2 separate regions of the Homo sapiens genome follow, and region 2 is linked to region 1. The links are contacts of gene promoters, found by promoter capture Hi-C in human tissues and cell types (Jung and others, 2019). All regions are on one chromosome and are shown on one strand. The core of a region is centred on a gene start or on the middle of the fragment in contact, and the rest is flanking DNA. Distances in the headings are between cores, read along the strand shown. Region 1 holds the start of KCNK15 (potassium two pore domain channel subfamily K member 15). Region 2 overlaps RIMS4 (regulating synaptic membrane exocytosis 4).

Evidence for each region. Contacts are between HindIII fragments. The study calls those that stand out against the background at their distance.
Region 2: a fragment that was not itself captured here is called in contact with the fragment with the promoter of KCNK15 in region 1 in 2 of the 25 tissues and cell types used here (H1 embryonic stem cells and psoas muscle).

The regions. Positions count from the first base shown.
Region 1 is chr20:44,744,613-44,747,648 of GRCh38, reverse strand. It overlaps KCNK15 (potassium two pore domain channel subfamily K member 15), which reads right to left and starts at 1,784. Exons shown (of 2, transcript NM_022358.4): 1 at 1,456-1,784. The coding sequence starts at 1,738. It overlaps KCNK15-AS1 (KCNK15 and WISP2 antisense RNA 1), which reads left to right and starts at 1,422. Exons shown (of 5, transcript NR_132377.1): 1 at 1,422-1,684. The HindIII fragment of the contact is 14,439 bases long and covers 1-3,036 here.
Region 2 is chr20:44,779,613-44,782,662 of GRCh38, reverse strand. The region is part of intron 1 of RIMS4 (regulating synaptic membrane exocytosis 4); the gene reads left to right. Among named protein-coding and RNA genes, the nearest start is that of RIMS4, 29 kb to the left of the region's middle. The HindIII fragment of the contact is 7,758 bases long and covers 1-3,050 here.

The DNA.
Region 1 (3,036 bases), core at 535-3,034:
CTCTTACATCAGCCTCCCAGACGTACCTCAGAGGTAAAGAACCAGGGTAAGAGGCCAAAACCACATGGCAAGCCTCCAAAGAATGTAGATAAAGGCAGAGAGAACAAGTTGATGGCATCCCAGACCAGTGGGCACGGTAACCAGGAGGGTCTCAGGTGTACCAAGATAGGAAGCAGGGGTGTCCATGTGGACAGGAGGGGGCAAAAGAGCTGAATAAGAGCTGGAGCCACGTTGGCAAATAATGAATTATTACAAATGAATAGTGCCTACTTGGCTTCAGGCACTGTGCCAAGCATGTTACATGCTTGACCTCACTGAAACCTGGCAGTCACCCAGTGAGGTAGGAACAATTGCATTTTGCCTTTGGGGAAACCAGGGCTTGGACAGGTGGAATCAATTGCCAGAGAAGGCAGGTGGCAATAGAGATGAGACCAGAACTCCAGTCTCTGTGATTCCAGAACTCATACTTTTAACTCCACTGCAAAAACCACAGCTCATATTCACTTGCAAGAGCATTATGGGGAAACTTTCTCCAAGGCACTGGCTTTCGGACTGGTGATCCAAGCCCCAGGGGGGGTGCCGGGACGTTCACAGCTGGAGCCTGGGGAGTGGCTGGCACCAAGCCTGGAGCCCTGCAGAGCCCACTTCTCTCCTTCCTGTTCCCCCAGGTTTAGGCTCAGCAGGTACCAGCCAGATGGTAGTCATGGCAACAGCTGGTGGTCCAGATGCTCCAAAGGAACTGCTCTGCATCCCTGAGGGCAGAGTCCAGAGCCTGTGGTTATCAGTCATTCCTTTAACAAGTATTTATTGATCATCTACTGCATGCTAGGCACGGGTCATACAGCAGTCCCTAAGACAGACTGGGTCCCCATTCTCATGGGGTAACAATAACAATTGCAATAATAAAAAAATGATCTTTTCTTTGTAGTGCTCTGTATGTGTCATGTTTTAGCACAGGCCTTGTCTGTGCATAGTCTGTCTCCTGAATAATAACTCTCACCACAGCCCTGAGATAAGGCCGATTAGCGACACTATTTTACAGAAGAGAAAACTCTGGCTCAGAGAGGTTGAGCAACTCGTCTAAGGTCACACAGCAAGTGTGAGGCAACCAGGCAAGGAAAAGCAAATCCAGCCACTTGGTCTCCCAGCCCCGCTTCACCTATCTCCAAGCCCCTTGGACGTTTTCTGAGCACTCCTGGGTCAGCCTTTTGGCAAACTCGATTTACTGATTCCTCCCGTCCCTGCCTGCGTGGGCTGACAGCTCCATTCAGCAGAGGGGGGCAAAGGAGACCAGGGAGACGAGGGAGGCGAAGGAGATGAGGGAGGCTCGGTGAGCCGAAATGACCCGTCCAAAGTAGCTCAGCTGGGCGGGGGCAGAGGTGGGACCGAAACCCAGAGGCGCCCCGGGACGGCTGGGGCTGGAGCGGGCGCGGAGGGAGGCTCCGGGCGGCTCACCGATGGTAGTGATGACGGTGATGGCGAAGTAGAAGGAGCCGGGGAACTTCCACTGGCGGCCGGCGCGGTGGGGCTCAGCCTGGAGCGCCAGGCGCTCCAGCTCGCGGTAGTCCTCGGCCGAGAAGCCGAACTTCCTCCGGAGAGCGCCCCGCTTCTGGACCAGCAGTCGCTGGCGGCCGCTTTCCGCCTCGGACTCGAGCGCGTCGAAGACAGCAGCGCCCACCAGCAGGTAACACAGGGTGCACAGGACCAGCCCGGCCGCGCGCACGCTCGGCCTCCGCATGGCGCCCCGGCCCCGGTACCCGCCGCGGTCCCAACCTGCTCCGTGTGCCCGGACCGCGCGCTCCGCCCCCTCCAACCCCGGCCCCACGCGGCAGGGTTGTGACGGGCGAGGCGGGGCGACTGCCGGGAACCTGGAGGCTGGGATCGCCACGGGTGGGGGCCGGAAGAACCGCTCCCCTGTCCGCCTCCCACTCGCCTGCCCGGGGTTCATGTGTCTGTGAATAGTGAGATCTGAAGCAAAGGCCCAAACCCCGGGCCTGCAGAAGTCCTGTTCCCGCCACTAACTCATGTTGTGACCTCGTGCCAGTCTTCCGTCCTTCCTTCCGTCCTTCCTTCCTTCCTTTTTCCCTCCCTCCCCTCCCCCCTCCCCTCCCTTCCTCCCTCCCTCCCTCCTTTCCTTCCTTCCTTCCTTTCACTCCTTTCCCCATCCCTCCCTCCCTTCTTCCCTCCCATCCTTCCTCCCTCCGTCCCTCCCTTCCTCCCTCCGTCCCTCCCTTCCTCCCTCCGTCCCTCCCTTCCTCCCTTCGTCCCTTCATCTCTTCTTCCCTTCCTTCTCTCCTTCCTTCCTTCTTTCATTCAGTCAGTCAATCCTCTGACAAATATTTACCAAGCACCTACTGGTGCAAACAACATTCCTGTTGTAAGTAAAAGTGATATCCTAGTGAGGAGGGCCAGCTAACAAACAAGAAACTAATTTAAGACAGGAGTGAGAAAGAAGGAAAAGGGATAGTTTCTTGGGGAAGGTGAACCCCACCATCTAAGGTGGTGCTTAAAACAGAACTGAGCATGACTTGGCAGCCAGAATAGCAGAGGAGCCGGTGTCGCTGGAGCCCAGAGAACTGGGGGGCAGATACTTTGGGGGAGCAGAAGGAAGGCAAAGAGGCAACTTCACACAGGGTCTTACAAGCCCTTATGTGGGTTTATTGAAAGCCATGGAAAGGCTGTATTACAAACACAGGCAAACAAACACACACGCAACACCACCACAATGATCTGATTCATATTTTTTAAAGAGCCCCTGGCTGTCATGGGGAAAAGGGATGGTGGCTAGGAGTGGAGGCCAGTTCGAAGGCTAGTGTAGTCCAAATGTGTGAAGATGGAGAGAAATGAGGGGATCCGGGATGCACCGGGGAGGTGGAGTTGGGCGCCCAGCTGGCCACATTGCCCAGCCTTTCTTGCACTTAGCAGGGTCTATGTGACCAAGCTTTAGCTCATGGAACATGGGCAGAAGTGACATATGCCACTTCCAGGCCTGGCCCATAAAACCCTGCCCTACACGTGCTCCATCTCTTTCCCCCA
Region 2 (3,050 bases), core at 254-2,753, 35 kb before region 1:
CCAGATAGGGCCTGCCCCTTCACCCTGGGTCCCAGATGAGTTCGTGGGATAGAACCATAGCTAACTCGTAAAGTATGTTAAGTATGGCTGGGCATGGTGGTTCATGCCTGTAATCCCAGCACTTTTGGGAGGCTGAGGCAGGCAGATCATTTGAGGTTAGGAGTTTGAGACCAAACTGGCCAACATGGTGAAACCCCATCTCTACTAAAAATACAAAAAGGAAAAAAAAAATTAGCCAGGCATGGTGGTGCATGCATGTAACCCCAGCTACTTGGGAGGCTAAGGCAGGAGAATCACTTGAACCTGGGAGACGGGTTGCAGTGAGCCAAGGTTGTGCCACTGCACTCCAGTATAGGCCACAGAGCAAAAGTCCATCTCAGAAAAATAAGGTATGTTAAGTATGAACAAGAACTTTGTTCTGTAAGCCACTGAAATTTGGGGGTAACTTGTTATTGCAGCATAACCTAATAAGAGCTTACTAGTACATTTAATCCTTACAACAATAGGTGGAGTGGATTCTATCATTTTTCCTGTTTTGCAGGGGAACTTAGACTCAGATTAGTTCAGTAAGTTTATTTAGTTTACTCAGAAAGTGGCAGAGGCATGCTTCAAGTCCCAAACTCAGTTTTTCTGGCTCCAGAGCCTGTTCTCCTAAGAAGACGGAAGTACGTGGGCTGTATTTGGTGAATGATGAGTAATTCCGTGTGGATAGAACACCTGGTATGTGCATCATGGCAGACTTGTAGTATAGGTTTGGGGCAAATCCTGGAAGTCTTGAATGCTGTGTGGATTGTGTAGCTTCCCAGTGCCATATGGGGCCATAGACTCTACCTTTTGCCCACAACCCAGTTCCTTCCAAGGCTTGTTTAGCTTGTCCCAAATGCTGATGGAAATAGCTTCCTGAGGAAAAACAGCTTTTTGTGGGACTGTGAATTGTCTTCCTTCCAATGATTGTGGAAATGCCTCTTCTTTAGAAAGTCTTTCCACATTGGCTCGAGGAGAGTAAATGACTTTCCCCTGACCACCCCTGCTCAGCATAGGACCTCCCCAACCCCAAATGCATTTACTCTGCATCTGGAACTTTTTGCCTTCAGTTTTCATTTGGTTCCACATTTTCCTCTTCACTCTATCTCCATGTTTTTATTTGTCAGTATAACCTTCAGTTGTACTGGAAGGTAGTGCTTGCATGTACAATGAAATCTTCTGATTTTATTTGCAATCAAGTATAATTCAGCATTGAATCAATTCTGCTTACAACCCAGACCGTGCCTCTAACTCCAGTGCTGCATTAATTACCCTTCTCCTCAGCTCCCATAATACTCTGTGTATATCTCTGCCCTTACATTATGCTACGTTGTAATTATTGCACAATTGCCCCTTTACTTGCCTATCTATTCTGGTAGACTGGGAGTTTCAGCAAGGTCTGGGTTTAATTCATCTATGTTATGAGTCTACCGCACAGGATCTGGCCCTGAATAGGCAATTAGTAAAGAGTGTGTTGAATGAATAATAATTACTTATCTGTTTCATGTCCCCCCCACACTCTACTACCTGTAAGTTTCTTAAGGTCAAAGACTGTATCTTATTCAAATCCCCAGAGACAAGAACAGCATGGCATAGGAAATGAACTCAATAAATGTATATTTTGTTGGATAAGTGAGAGTAACGTTTCCTTCCAGGGGCATAACCCTTTAGAGTTACAAAGCACATTCCATATTTATTACCCAGTTGATTCTCACAAAATCTTTCCCCTCCCTCTCTAGGGTTCTCAAATCCTTATCATGTGCCTTTTGCCCCTCTTGCTTTCACTCACTTCATCTCTGTGTCTTTATGATCTCTCCTCTTTCCTCTTCAAATCCTCTTGGAAAAAGGTCTGAGGCACTTATCCCTCCCTCCAGTGTAGAGCAGCGTAAAGGGCAAAAATTGCACTCTGGCCTGCGTTGAACCAGGATCACATCCCACATGCCAGCTTTGTAATTATGGGCAGGTTCATTAACCCCTGAGCTTCAGCTTTCCCTTCTGAAAATGAAGACAATACTTACCTTCACTGGTGGTTGTGAAGATTACATGAAATGATGAGTGCTGAGCACCTCTCATAGGCTCTGGTTCAACTCGATAAATGGAAATTCCTGTCTTTATGTGGGAAGATGATTCTTTGAGGGTGGAATTTCAGGCACCAGCAAGCCAGTGGGAAGGAATTGTGGTTTGAAAACAACCACAGATAGGGATGCTTCGTAGTTCTAAAATCTCCCTTGTGAGCCCCACCTCTGCCCTAGGCAGGCCCAGTCCTCTGTGCTCAGTCAGCACCACGGACAGTTCCTGCACACGCCAGTTCTTTGCTGTGGACTTAATCGCATTTTAGAGGCCTTCAGTTGCAAGTCACAACTTTATATACCACCAAGGGAGCTAAAACATGTCAGAATTTAACTCTGACATGCCACTGGTTGCCATTCACATCTTAATTTTGGAGATGTTGAAAAAATGCTTGTCTTAGAATCGATGAAATAATGAGTTTACTAGAGGTGGTATCAGTGAGCAGTTGACCATTGACCTTTAGAGAGGTTAATAGTAATAGCCAGTATTTATTGAATGTCAACTGTATTACAGGCCTTTTCCCCTCCTTCCTGTCCTGTTCTGGGTGCTGTTTGCCCTGTATACACATTCTCTTAACAAAGATTACATTTGGGGAATATAAATGTGAGCCAGATATACAGTAAATCAACAGGCTTTCCACCATCTTTTTCCTCAAAATCTTCCAATCTTTAGCCTCACTTCTTCAGAACATTGCTTCCTGCTGAATGATAGTCTAACGTGTTAACCTTTCCAGTTCACACCGTGGTTAATCCACCTAAAAGGCATTTCAAATGCATACCCTGTAACCCAGCAGCTGCACTCCTAGGTATGTGCCCTGAAGAACTGCACAGAAATGGTCACCAAAAGACACATACAAGAATGTTTTTGGCAGAGCTATTTGTAATATCTCATTACTGGAGGCTACCCACCCAGATGCTCATCAGCAATAGAATAGATGAAAATTATTTTGATATATT